Linked DNA regions of Homo sapiens: regions 2, 3 and 4 are each linked to region 1. The links are contacts of gene promoters, found by promoter capture Hi-C in blood cells and fetal thymus (Javierre and others, 2016). All regions are on one chromosome and are shown on one strand. The core of a region is centred on a gene start or on the middle of the fragment in contact, and the rest is flanking DNA. Distances in the headings are between cores, read along the strand shown.

What was found. The method cuts DNA at HindIII sites, captures the fragments that hold promoters and counts their contacts. A CHiCAGO score of 5 or more calls a contact.
Region 2: a fragment that was not itself captured here is called in contact with the fragment with the promoter of CHRM3-AS1 in region 1 in 1 of 17 cell types (naive B cells); the score reaches 6.7 in naive B cells.
Region 3: a fragment that was not itself captured here is called in contact with the fragment with the promoter of CHRM3-AS1 in region 1 in 1 of 17 cell types (total B cells); the score reaches 8.8 in total B cells.
Region 4: a fragment that was not itself captured here is called in contact with the fragment with the promoter of CHRM3-AS1 in region 1 in 1 of 17 cell types (naive B cells); the score reaches 13.4 in naive B cells.

The regions. Positions count from the first base shown.
Region 1 is chr1:239,898,233-239,901,776 of GRCh38, reverse strand. CHRM3-AS1 (CHRM3 antisense RNA 1) reads left to right here and starts at 1,905. Exons shown (of 2, transcript NR_046582.1): 1 at 1,905-2,013; 2 at 3,385-3,544. The region is part of intron 6 of CHRM3 (cholinergic receptor muscarinic 3); the gene reads right to left. The HindIII fragment of the contact is 7,774 bases long and covers 1-3,544 here.
Region 2 is chr1:238,218,603-238,222,146 of GRCh38, reverse strand. No RefSeq gene overlaps it. Among named protein-coding and RNA genes, the nearest start is that of LINC01139, 270 kb to the left of the region's middle. The HindIII fragment of the contact is 821 bases long and covers 1,293-2,113 here.
Region 3 is chr1:238,234,854-238,238,397 of GRCh38, reverse strand. No RefSeq gene overlaps it. Among named protein-coding and RNA genes, the nearest start is that of LINC01139, 250 kb to the left of the region's middle. The HindIII fragment of the contact is 288 bases long and covers 1,580-1,867 here.
Region 4 is chr1:238,252,941-238,256,484 of GRCh38, reverse strand. No RefSeq gene overlaps it. Among named protein-coding and RNA genes, the nearest start is that of LINC01139, 230 kb to the left of the region's middle. The HindIII fragment of the contact is 9,275 bases long and covers 1-3,544 here.

The sequences.
Region 1 (3,544 bases), core at 656-3,155:
GGAAAATCTATAAGACCATTCGTTTTGAAATGAATTCAAAAATGAGGTCATTCATAAAAGGGAATACTATGCAGCAGATAAAAGCAATCAACTAGATATATATTAACTTAGAACCATCTAAAAATACTTTGTTAAGTAAGAAAGGCAAGTTGTGGGATGACAAATACAACACGATAAAATTTAGTTTACAATAAAACACAGCAATAGTATACTAAAGATTGTACATGCCTGTATACTAAAGGTTGTATACAGACATATAGACAGATACCACCTTTAGTATATTAATATAATTAAAATTGTCATAGAAGGATAGAAAGATTTACATGCAAATCATATATTAGCAGTGGTATTTTGGAGGAGGAAGATAAAATTAGGATTGAGGGTGATGGACAAAGAAGACTTCAGCTCAATCTGTAATGTCCCGAATGAGGAAAAAAAAAAAAATCCCAAAGTTTCCGAAGCCAGAAGGAAGTGAAGAAGAGAGTTAAAAGGGGGCAGATATTGGTGATGGTTGCCAAGGAGGGCTTGGAATCTTGCCTTACACTCTGCTGTTGCTTTTAAATGCGGAGAAGGTTGGAGGAAAAAGAGGTCGCATCTGATAATATTGATCAGACTCAAAGAAGATGCGTGCCTCATGCCCTCCTGTCTGGTGCCCAGAGGTGGCAGCTGCTCAGAGGTCACTAGGTCACCATGGCAGAAGCACCGATGACCTGAATGCCTGTGGTAATGAATTCTTCCTTAGTCTTGCCTAAGACGTAAACTCAGCTGGGCGAACACCTTGATTTCAGTGTTGAGACCCTGAACAGGGAACCTTGTTGTAAGCTGCTAAGTTTGTGGTGATTTGCTATGCAGAATGGGGCCACAACAGGCAGCTTCGAGGCAAGTTATACAAAAATGAAATGACTGATCTTGCTCGCCTGAATACGATGGATTAAAAATATTATACACACTTTACATGTAAATGAGCAATGTATTGTCTCACACATAAGAAATCCTAGTTCTACTTGGGTTGTGGATTTTCTCCCCTCATTGCTGTAGGGGCCTTTCTTGCCTTCGTCCCTCCAAGGGAATATTCAGCACCTGCCATACCTCTTCTGAGCACACTGTCTTTTCTCGACAGCCCAGGTGAGGTACATTCCTGGTGCTCCCCAATCTATTCATATCAAGGCTGTACCCAGCTTTATCAAGGAAGACAATGTCCCTATAGGGCCAGGAAACAAGATCCCTCCCACCTTCTTTCAGACATTTTCTATGAACTTCTCCGAGGCCTTGGGGCCACGGCCTCATTAAAAGGACTGTTCTCTGGAGGCTCAGCAACGGAGGTCCTATCGGTACCCAGGATGACAACAGGAGAAAGTGATCAGCCGGTCATAAGGATTTCAAAAAAAAAAAAAAAAAAGAATATCTAAAAGTACTTATTAGAAATGAGAGTCACCAAATGTTTTACTTCAGGTATATCTATTATTTCATAGGTAATATGTAACTTCCTGAGAATCAAGACTGTAGGTCAGACCCAAATGAAGCAGTGATAACCCCGGGCTAAGAGCCCTCAGTTTACGGTGATTTTCTGAGTAGAAGGTATCATTCCTATGTTTAATATTCCTTCCTCATCCTGACTCAACAGCTATTCCATAGCATTAGGATATTTTGAGTCAAGGAAGTTCACAGTCTACACTCATTGAATTGAATGATATTGGTGAGGGGACCTACAGGAAGTCTTTCCTTGTAATGCTCAGGAATAAACAGGTGGTGGGAACAGAGATCCTTGTCAGCCCAGTGACCTTCGCACTTTATAAGTAATCCCAGGCAAGAGTTCTAGGAATGCAGCCTGCATGAGGGCTCAGGGCATGGTCAGATAGGGGCAGACCAGGGGCAGGTGCCTGGCTCCTCTCTGGGGTCAGAGCAGGCTCCCTCCCTGCCAGGTTGTGGGTGCAACATTCAGGGAATGGTTACTGAAGTGTTCCAGGCACCAGAGCTCAGGCAAGAAGTGGAAAACTGCGCAAGATCCTGCACGTGGGTACCATCAGTGCCTTTGTGGGGAAGTTACATCTGTGTGTATGTATATATACTTAGTATATATATACGATATACTTAGTGTACTTATATCGTGTATATATACTATGTACTTAGTATACTTACTTATATACAATGTACATATACTTAGTGTATATATACATTGCATGTTGAACTTACTATATATATACACACACACTACACACACACACTAATTGGTCCGCTAATTGGCTGTTGCATTTTGAACTTGGTATGTGTGTATATATACATGTGTGTGAGTATATATACACACATATATACGTATGTATATACATATCATATACATACATGTGTATAGATATGTGTGTATATATGTATATGTGTGTATATGTATATGTGTTTATATATGTATATATGTATTTATGTATATATACACACACACTAAATTCAATAGATATATATGCGTGTGTGTATATACACACACACACACACACACACACACACACACTGAGTTCAAAATGCAAGAGCCAATTAGTGGGCCAATATGAGAATTAAAAAAGAAAAAAATGTACAGCAAATTGAATAGGACGTATCAGAATGCATACCACATAATGACAATCAATATCACTTCATTAAATTTTTGCTCGACATACACACACGTATAAAATTATGTCTATAGTCATGATGTACGTACAATGTATTTTGTGTTGAATAATGTTGGAAAGCCACTGCAGTGGATATTTTGACATCTTTTATTAATATTTAAAAGAAGAGGGTGAAACAAAAAATGTGAAAAAAGACAAAAAAGTTTGACAGTACTGAATTTAGGAGAAATTGAAGGTTAGTTCTAGGAAATTTGCCTTCTTCCCCCTAGTTATGGCAAAAAATAACTTTTCTGGGGTTATAAGTCTGTGAAATATATAGGTAAATTTAAAAAATTTAAAAATGTGTAAATATCCAGTGTGAAATACATGTGAGATTGCTTACAGAAACGGACAAGGCCAATATACATGTGAGGCTTCTGGTTATAATGAATTCCAAGGAGATAAACTCATTTCATGTCCTCTGAGCCAACCGGGCAGTACCTACTTGGGAAAAATGTTTGAGGGCTCTCGATTTTTAAACCTGCTGAACCAATTAAAAGCGTATAAATTTTTCTAGAAGTCTAAATTAATTCTACGTCTATAATAATAATTATTTTTTTAAGTGATGATATGGGAAAAACCCAAAATATCTTTGCAACATACAGCCGTGCGTTTTTTCTCAGACCAACTATTTAGTGCCTCTTCCCTATTTGTAATCCAGTCTGCGTCATTTTTCAGGGCTTGTTTTGGGTCTCTGACTGCCTTCTTTGCTTAGAGTGTCTCTGTTTTCTGTCATAATTCACTATAGCATTCAACGGCTAAAATGACTTTTAAAACTACCTGGTGAATGGCAATACCACATCAAACCACTAGGTGGCAAAGCAGACTCGGAGAACGACCTCTCTGCCAGCAGGCGCTGAAGCAGCTACCCGTTCCCCATGCTGGTGACCAGGAACTTCAGCTTAGCT
Region 2 (3,544 bases), core at 454-2,953, 1.7 Mb after region 1:
ATAATTGAACTAGAGAAAATGACTTAAGAAAATGCAGAGACAGGAAAGGAATTTTGGTTGAACTTGAGAGTCATCAAATTTGGCTACAATGTTAGCTATGTTTTTAGAAACTACTATGAGAGATGAAACTGGAAGAATGTTTTACGTTTAGATGGCAGAGGATCTTCAATGCATGACCAAAAGGTTTAGTGTTCAACAAATGAGCCGAAGACAGTCAGTGAAGTGTTCAGATCACTGAGTGAAGTGAGCACAGCTGTCTGCATGGGCTTCTCCTCATGCTGGCACGAGCCATAGATTGTTGTGAAGAAAAGCCATTCAGCAGTGGGTTTGTGTCTATGTGGCACTGATCACAAGAAATTGGGTGCTAATAGTGTTGAAATGTACAAGAAAGGCAACGTGTGTCTGCCTGTGTATGCACAGATATATGCATGTAGTTGGCACAGAGCTGTTACAGGTATAAGGAAGAGATTAGTGGCCAGGCACGGTGGCTCATGCCTGTAATCCCAGCACTTTGGGAGTCCGAGGCAGGTAAATCACCTGAGGTCAGGAGTTCAAGATCAGCCTGGCCAACATGGTGAAATCCCGTCTCTACTAAAAATATAAAGATTAGCTGGGTGCGGCAACAGGTGCCTATAATCCCAGCTACTGGGGAGGCTGAGGCAGGAGAATCACTTGAACCTGGGAGGCAGAGGTTGCAGTAAGCCGAGATCATGCCACTGCACTCCAATCTGGTGACAGAGCGAGACTCCGTCTCAAAAAAAAGAAAAAAAAGAAAAAAGAAAAAAAAAGAAGAGGTTAGTTTAGTTTTTGAATATTGGAGGTTTGGGAGAAATTAAAAATAAATTACTACATATTATATATTACATGGTCACAGTTTTGGGGATTAGGTTCTGGACATCTTTGGGGTGAGAAGGGCAGCATTTTTCATGTGCCACGTAGTATCCTTGGTGGTTGAGGCCGGGAATCTGCATTTTCATGATGTCTCTAAGTGACCCTGTGCAAGTACAAAGGCCTACAGATTATTTTAAGGCTTAAGCAGTCACAAGATTTTAAAGCCAGGCTTGTGGTCTCTTTAGCAATGTGAATCCCTCTAAAGTTTAGTAGATTTCCTCTGTGCTTCCAATCAGTTCCATGTTTCATTATCCATAATCAAATTACCTTTCTGGAAAAAGATAATAGGTCTTCTCTATTATCCTGATTTTTTTTTGCCCCATCTCTACCTTTCTAGTTCTCACCTTAATGGCAGCTACTTTAAAACCATCTAAAACATAGGCTGGTAAAGAGAGAAAGCTTCCTTAACTCCCACTGTTTGGAAGTTCAAAGTACTTTGTTTTCCAATTGTGTAAGGCCCCAAATATCTCTACTCTTTATTTCTTCTTCCACAAACCTGCAAATTCCCACTTCACCTCACCTTAGATGTAATGCCTTACTAAAGTAAAAAGTAAAAGTCCATACTACACTTTCCAACCACTTCTCCTAGAGTCACCCAGCCTGCCTTGCAAGTTAGTACACGTGACTGTTTTACTAAACATTAGACCAAACTTTGTCAACTTTTCAGAGTATGATATCCATTTCCACTTTCAGTTATCCATATTGTTATTGTTAGAGCAGCGGCTTATATAAAAATGCCTATTTCTGTATATTAGGCAAGACTGTAGCAGCAAATGAACCTAAAATACCTGTGTGTCTTATTACAATAGAAATTTATTATTTTACGATACTCTGCTGCAGGTTTTCCAGGTCATCAGTGGTTTTGCTCCAAATGGTGATTTAGAGACCTACATCTCATCCACCTGTGGCTCCATCATCTTTGAGTTCTATCTAATAGAATCTGAGTGGAAATGACTGTCATTTTGTGTGTCTTCTCCTGATCTCTTCTCCTTCTACTATTTATCTTGATCTGCATCCACTCAGTAGAACTCAATGACATGAGTTGGGTCTCACATCTAAGTTCAGTTGAAGCAGGGAAATGTAATCTATTCGTATTCCAGTAGAAGAAATAGATTCGTTTTAGATTTTGGTAAACAACTAACAGTCTCTATCATATCACCAAATGATTATTTATATGTCTTCATTTAGGGTATTTGCTGCAGCTTTTAAGTAATAGAAAGCTTGATTCCGCAAATGTAAATCTACTTACGTACATTTCACATAGTCCCAGACACATAAAGAAATTTGGCAAATCTATTCTGATTTTTTTTAAGAATTTGGGTCAGACTCTTCTTTCTAAAAACATAGTGAAAAAAGCTTCTCAGTCTGGTCTCCAAAAGCATTCTTCCTGACAGTCCCATCCCCACTACCCCCATAGACTACTGAAGTCTGTTGCTCTACAGAGAGTTCTCTCAACTATTGGAACTCTTCAGAAACAAAATTCGCAACACATCTGCAATTAGAAAGGGTCCTTCCAGCTGATCCAGGTCCTTACTTTCCCCTTTGAGTTAGTCCCAGGTGTTCTGTCGGTTCTAGTATAGAGTTAGGGATTGGGAATTTGCTTGGGATACCACCATGTCTCAGCATCTGCCCTCTGTCTAACCTTTTGAATCACTTGTTTCTCTACACACAGTGTTAGTTTTTCACGGCTTTTGTAACAAACAATCACCAATTTAGTTTTTAAGAGAAACTTATTCTCTCACCATTCTGGGACTTGAAGTTGGAATCAGTATCACTGGGCTGAAATCCAGGTGTCTGCAGGGCTTCACTCTCTTCAGAGGTCTAGGAGAGGCTCTGTCCATCCCCTTGCTTTCTTTCAGTTCTGGTGACTTCCAGCATTCTTTTCGTCTGTACCACATCACTCCAATCTTCAAGTCTCTTGCTTTGTCTCTGCATGGTCTCTGAGGAGGACTGAGGGGAAAATCTGTTGCCTGCTTCTTCCAGCTTCAGGTGGCTGTTGCTATGTCTTGTTGCATTGCCACATCAGCCCAATCTCTGCCTCTATCTTCACATTGCCTTTTTCTCATCTGTCTATGAAATCTAGCCTGCCTCTCTCTTATAAGGACACTTGTGATGGCATTCAGGACCCACTAGGATAATCCAGAACACTTGCCCCATCTCAAGATCCTTAGCTTAATCGCATCTGCAAAGACCCTGTATCTCAAGTAAGGTAACAGATAGTTTCCAGGGATTAGGACCTGATATCTTTCGGGAGACCATTTTTCAATCTACTACATATATACCCAATGTCAAACTTTTTTTCAGTGGAACTGGAATACAAGAAGCTGAGAGAAGACCAGCTGGAATATGTGGGTATCGGCTATATTTACTAATCAATGCATTTCATGTGCCCACTTTAATTTCTCTCCAGAGACTGGATAAAGAGAAGGCAAGCTGTCTTCTTTCTCTTTTTTCCTTACATATAAAAATCAAAAACAGATAATGGTAAGAAGTTCACACAAACCAAGTTATATTGAAGACTCAACTTAGTTTTACCTGAAAGTTTACACAAAAACATTCAGGATCTGATTAAAGGTAAATAGCATTAGAAAGACACTTGCATCCTAGTATAAATTCAACTGCTAAAATCTCTACTAATAGTTTACTTTTTTGT
Region 3 (3,544 bases), core at 474-2,973, 1.7 Mb after region 1:
ATATATTTGTAACTTCTTTCTTATCTAATCGTACAATCTCTACTTTTAATTAGCGCATTTAAATCATTTAAATATAATTTAATTATCAATACAATTGAATTTAAATCTATCGTATCGCCATTTGTTTTCTATTGGCCCAATTTTTATTTTTTCACTGTTCCTGCCTTCCTTTGGATTAATTGGGTAATTTTTGTGATTTCATTTTACTTCCACTAGGGGCTCACTAGTTAGATCTTCTCGTTTTATTTTTTATAGCTGCACTGGGGTTTATAATATACATCTTTAACTTATCATAATCCACCTTCAAATAATATTAAGCCATTTCACTACAGTTTAGGAACCTTATGATGGTATACTTCCATGCACCCTATCCTATCTTTTGTATTATTATGTTGCATATTTTATTTTTATATTTGCTATACAGCCCACAATGCATATTGTTAATATTTTTCCTTCAATACTGTGAAAGTGTCACCCAATTTTCTGTTGGCTTGCTTAGTTCCTGATAAGTCTGCTCTCATTCATAACTCTGTTCCCTTTCTGTAATATGTCCTTTTCCTTGAGCTACATGTAAGACTTTTCTCTTTATTGCTAGTTTTTAGAAATTTGATTGTGATTCTCCTGAATTTGTTGTTATTTTTCTATATAGAGTTTCTGAGCTTCTTGAATCTGTGGTTTTACAGTTTTTATTAACCTTGGTAAATTTGGGACCATTATTTTTAAAACTATATTTTCTTAACCTTTCATGCTGGTACTCCAGCTTCATAAATGATTGCCTGTTTTATATGCCACAGCTCACTGAAAATTGCTTTACTTTTTTTTTTTTGAGACGGAGTCTCACTCTGTGGCCCAGGCTGGAGTGCAGTGGCACGACTTCACCTCAATCTCTGCCTCCCAAGTTCAACTGATTCTCTTGCCTCAGCCTCCCGAGTAGCTGGGGATTACAGGTGCCCGCCACCGCACCCAGCTAATTTTTGTATTTTTAGTAGAGATGGGGTTTCGCCATGTTGGCCAGGCTGGTCTCGAACTCCTGACCTCAGATGATCCACCCGCCTCGGCTTCCCAAAGTGCTGGGATTACAGGTGTGAGCCACCGTGCCCAGCCACCAAAAGGTATTTTTAAATGGAAAATTCATTAATAACAAAAAGGAAGAAAAAAAGAAAACCATAGAAAACAATACAAATAGTTTACAAAGGATTTTCAAAGTAAATCTTTGAAAATATATACACAGTTGACCCTCGGAACAACACAGGTTTGAAAGTGCAGGCCCACTTACATGCAGATTTTCTTCTGCCTCTGCCACCTCTGAGACAGCAAGATCAACCCCTCCTCTTCCTCCTCCTTCTCAGCCTTCTCAATGTCAAGACAAGGAGGATGAAGACCTTTAGGATGCTCAACTTCTACTTAACGAATGGTAAGTGTATTTTCCCTTCCTTGGGATATTCTTGGTAACATTTTCTTTTCTCTAGCTTACATTTTTGTAAAAATATAGTATACGATGCATAACACATAAAAATATGTGTTAATTGACTATGTTATTGGCAAGTCATCTGGTCAACAGTAGGCTATTAGTAAAGCTTTAGGGGAATCAAAAGTTATATTTGAATTTCTGACGGTGTGGGAGGTATATTCCATTCTAGCCAAAAAAAAGAGACTCGTAGGTTATAACTGGGCTGTCTGCTTTTCCACTCTATCCCTGGCTGAAACTCATCCCCTTCTCACCACTGAGAAACACCCTTTGAGCATCCTAATAATGCTTTGTCACTTTACTTACTTAATGTCTTCATACCTAATTCTACTTCTTAAACTTTTCATATACAGAAGCTGAATGGGATTATGGTGTCTGCCACAAAGAAATATAAAAGCTTACAGCCCATATCCCATTTTCATGTGGTAGGGCACAGTCTAGTCTCCAATTTACACTGAGATTGCACCTTAATGATAACTTTTGTGTAAATATTATATTCATATACTAATCAGGGTTTTATTATCTCACAATACCTCCTTCCACACTGCCCACTGGAAATGTGATCTAATAACAGACAAGATCATTGACCACATCAATATTCCATATTCATTTCTTCTTTTTCTAAATGTGTGCAATGGTACCCAATAAGAAAATAATATTGTTCTTATGCCTAGAAATTAAAGCATAATTCCCAAAGAAACCATGACCCTTAAGAGAAACATAGGATTTGCCTGCCCTGGAGTTGTTGGATTTCTTTGTTTTTGTTTTTGCCTTTAAGAATGGCATATCATTGTCTATTGCTATTGTATCAAATTACTACAAATTTAGAAGCTTAAAACAACATGAATGTACAATCTCAGAACTTTGCAGGTCAGAGGTCTGCATTGGCTTGACTGATTTCCTTACTCTGGATGTCAGCCAGCCTGGGCTCTTATCTGGAGGCTCTTGGGGAGAATCCACTTCCAAGCTGCTCATTCAGGTTGTTGGCAGAATTCAGTTCCTTGCAGTTATAAGGCTGAGGTTCCATTTTTTTTTTTTTGCCTGCTGTTGTCACATGGGAGTCTCTCCCAGCTCCTCCAGGCAGCCTGCATTCCTTGTCCCATTGACCTCTCCATCTTCAGACAAGCAATGGCACAGGGCTGAGTTCTCTTCATGCTTTGGATTTCTCTGACTTCCTCTTTTGCTGTGTCTCTTCTACTCCAGAGAACCAGAGAAAGTTCTCTGTTTCTGATGACTCCACAGATTAAATATGGCCTACCTGGAGAATCCAGGATTTTCTCCCTATTTTAAGGTCTGTGACCTTATTTATATTTGCTAAGTCCTTTTTGCCCTGTAAGGTAACATATTTGAAGTTTCCAGGGATTAGGGCATTAACTTCTCTTGTTGTGGGGGGAGTGGGTGGGTGTATTTTGTTCACCATAAGTGGACACATATTATTAGTCTTATTCTAAGCATGTAAATGTTTGATATAGAATAGGAAAGTTAGTGAGGCCACAGGAGAAACTGAGAATGAGGCTTGGAAGGAAGACAATTATTGCACCTGGAGGTCCCAGTGATACAATGATAGAGGCAGGAGGCAGGGAAATTCTAGGTAGAAAAGGGCGGGTCCCTGAAAAAATCCCACCCTCAAGTGTGATACCACAGCCCAAAGTGAAAACTTATATCCCTGTTTTCCCACACGAATGTTGCCTTTTCCAAAACCATCCATGGCCTGCCCCACCCCTCATCTTGTGCCCATAAAAATCCCAGAACTCAGTTGGCAGAGAAGAGAAGTCACTGGACATCAGACGCTACGGTTGGATGCCAGAGAGAAGTAGCTTGACTTGAGAGGGACAGTTTGATGGCATAGCTTCAGAGAGGAGTCTGGCTGGGGACAGCCGGACTTCAGGGGAAGATTACCTTCCTACTCCGTCCCCTTTTCAGCTCCTCTTTCTGCTGATAGCCATTTTCATCAGCAATAAAATCCCTCATATTTACCATCTTCAATTCGTTTGTGCAACCTCATTCTTCCTGGATGTTGGACAAGAACTCAGGGGCCAAGAATGTGGATGCAAAAGGCTCTCACACTAACCCTTT
Region 4 (3,544 bases), core at 379-2,878, 1.6 Mb after region 1:
CATCTACATGGCAGGCAGAGTATGACACTGAGGACGGGCATCTCAGTCTGTTTCTGACTCATTTGACTTCACCATGAATGGAAAGTAGCACTTTAGGTAGTGGGGGGAAAAATAGACTCCTAGATGTTCAGAACTCCTAGATTCATGCCTTATCTCTGCCACTGATTCACCAGTGTCATTTTGAGCTGGTCTTTGACCATCTTGCCTCTCAATGTCTTGGAATCTAATGAAAGAATAATATCTGCTACCAATGGCTGGGAGGACAAAATGAAATTAAAACTGTAATCCATTGTATAAATACAATTTTGCATGCTTATTCTATCACTCATTAGTATGAGTAAAGTATTATGATGTTATTGAAACTAAATTCTAAAGATACAAGACAGAGTAAAGGTAAAGGGATTTACGCTATGACACTTTTTCATTAGTAAATGCAATTATATAGTCAAGCCCTAACTAGTTCATATGACTCATGTTAGAATTAATAGGGAAAACTCTTTCTTTAATTCTCTTAGTTTATTATGTGGAGGATATTTTTATTTCATAGTCTTATTAAGTTCAGGCAGAATAACCACAACACCACATCACTGGCTCATTTACTGCCCAATTTAAAATTATTACTTCTATCAAATTTATATTCTTACATACAGGGAATTTAGCTTTCTTCTCTCATTACAAGAAAAAAGAGATATTTCAAAATAACATTTTTCTTTTCTACTATCCAAAAATCTCAAAATATATGAAAGAAAAAAGGATAGAGAGACACTAGCTGCTTCCACTGGCATTCATCTTTTTTTGGATTTGAACATTACTCATGAAGCTCATTTGCATTCAATAAAGAGTGACACATTCTCCTAAAAGGAACTGCCGTAACACAAAGAGCTACAATAAGCTCATTCCATGTAGAAAACCAAAGTCCCATTTTTCCTCAATACTCATCTACCGAACAAGGTCAGGAAAATGTTGAAAGCAATTTCACATTTATTTGTTCCAGATAAATGGTGAAATAAAATGTGACAGGAGTGAGAAAGACAGAATAGAAAAATCAGATGGAGTGAGACTGTCAAATCTCGGCTATATTTTCTATGTTCCGAGTATAAAGTAATTGTGGTTTTTTTCCTTGACATTTCACTCCATAATTAAACAGGTGTCTAATATTCAAATACAAACTTCCAATTTCCGAGATGATTTCTTTTCATATGTGGTTAACAGTTTGGGCGAGATGTATCATACATTTCATTCTTGCATATGATTTCCCCCCTGGGAGGAACTTACTTGTGTTATTCAGAGGCTCACAGTTACAAATGTCAGCCAAGGCTGTTTCAGTTGGTTACAACAAAATACAAAGAGCAGCACATTCCTGGGGCTCAGCCCCACGCATCAGGTTGGATTTCCTCTGCTGCACAATTATCTCCTATAAAACTGAGTCTTGGTCCATTACCTACATAGCCATGGGCCACACAGGACACACCATAATAAAGGTAATTCAACAGGCTCACTTAACAAATATTCATGAGTGTCTCCTATAAGGTAAGCACTGTGCTGAGTACTACTAGAAATGTGCCCATGGATAAGACAGATGGAACTTACATTCTAGGAAAAGATGGAAGGAAGGAAAGAAGGAAGAAACAAAGTAGCTACTTTGTGATCTAGAGAAGAAGGCACTGATGAGTGGCATGAGCATACAAATAAAGAACTGATGTGAATAATAGAAGGAGATTTCTCCTAGATAGAATGGTTAGCAAACATCTCTCTGAAAAAGGAATATTTACGCTGAAAACTGATGTTTGGAAATTAGTTAGCTATTGCCACTATTTTCATGACAGTTTACATTTTATACTCTATTAGTTCTTCGGATATTATATCTAGCGTGTCAAATAAAGCCAGGTCTTCTTCGTTGAGACAACACAAATTTGGAATGTGAGCACAGACTAGACGCATAATGAAGTTTAATTTGATTCATAAAAGGCAGTGTGCCTAGAAAATGAACATGATAAACAAGATAAAAGATTGTATTAATGCCTTTGGAAGACATTTGAAATGCTGATAAGAAGTAAACAAACAAATTGGAGGCTAACTACAAATATTTACTATGCAAATTTTGGTTGGTTTGCTTGAGTTGCCACAAAGATTAAATATCTTCAATATCCAGAAGGACACCCTACCTTTGGTGAGGCCTATTGGTCGCCTTTCCCCGTCCATTGTCCCTACCACCAGCTATAACGCCAGATTTCTATAGAGGATTTCATAATGTGTAGGAGAAATATATATTTTCTGATGTGAAACCCATGATCTAGGTGAGGCCAATTAGAGCACTCCACTCCCCCTGGACAAAAGTAAATTTAGGGTTAGCCCCATCATCTAAACGGATGCAATGAGTGAAGTTTGAGGACTTTTCTCTGTGTTTGGGAGCCCAGATGCTCACCCTCTTTATGACTGGTGTGATATGTAGCAGTGAAACAGAAACCACTGTAACTATTTTATTATATACGTGAAAAGAATACAAGAACAAGGGAAGAGCCTAGTGAATTGGAGATATGAGCTGGAGCCTTAATCAAACTACTCTGAAACTTGTACCACTTGTACACGTTTCAGTTATTAGTCTCTGAGTGGAGCCAACGATTTCTACGATTATTTAACACAACTGAGTTATGTTTGCTATTTAAAATGTCTTATCTGTATTCACGACCTAGCCTCTTGTTAGGAGTCTTCTCCATATTTAAACTAACTGTCCCTTCTGATAACTCTGGTTCCCCTGTGTAGCCAACTGGATTTTTTCTCCAGCTTTACACTTTATTTCCATCTCCGTGGCCTGTGAAGGTTATTAGACCCTCCTACCATAAGGAATTGCTCAGCGAGGCAGCATCATAACCCAAATGAATGAACAAACCAGGCTGATGCTCATGGACTCACTTGGGCCTCAGACTGCACATCCTCCGATCCTACAAGTTTTGAGACAAGTATTATAGTGAAAATGACTTAAAAAAATCTCTCCAAGAATATAACAGGATTGAAATCTGAATAAGATGACCTTGGCCTATTGCCATACGTTCTGAGTTTGCTATGATTTTTCTAGAAATGGGTTGTATTTTAGAAAATAAATTACCTCAAATCTAAAGATTTCAGGTTTGAAATTAAATCACTGCCTATGTCCTGTATGAATACAAACTTCAAACTAGCTTGAATCAGGTGTGTCTGTGGAGATGAGACTTTCTTCTAGCACCTGGTAGGATGATCGCTTCTGGACAAGTTCAATAATATATGGAATTATTCATGAAACCAACATTTATTAGCATTCCACTTTTCATCAAACACTATTCTGGATCTGATGAAGTCCATATCAAGAATAATACAAACTTGCCTCTTCTCTCCAGGAATCTATGTTATGGGAAGCACAAACGAGGTAAAATGTAATAATAGTGCAGTGTGGTAAAAGTGTTGCCTCACAGAGGCATCTGTCATATAAATGCACCAAATAAATATGGTACGTCTATATTGGTCACTAGATTATTTATTTCTTCACAGCAGCCTGAGATCCATTTAT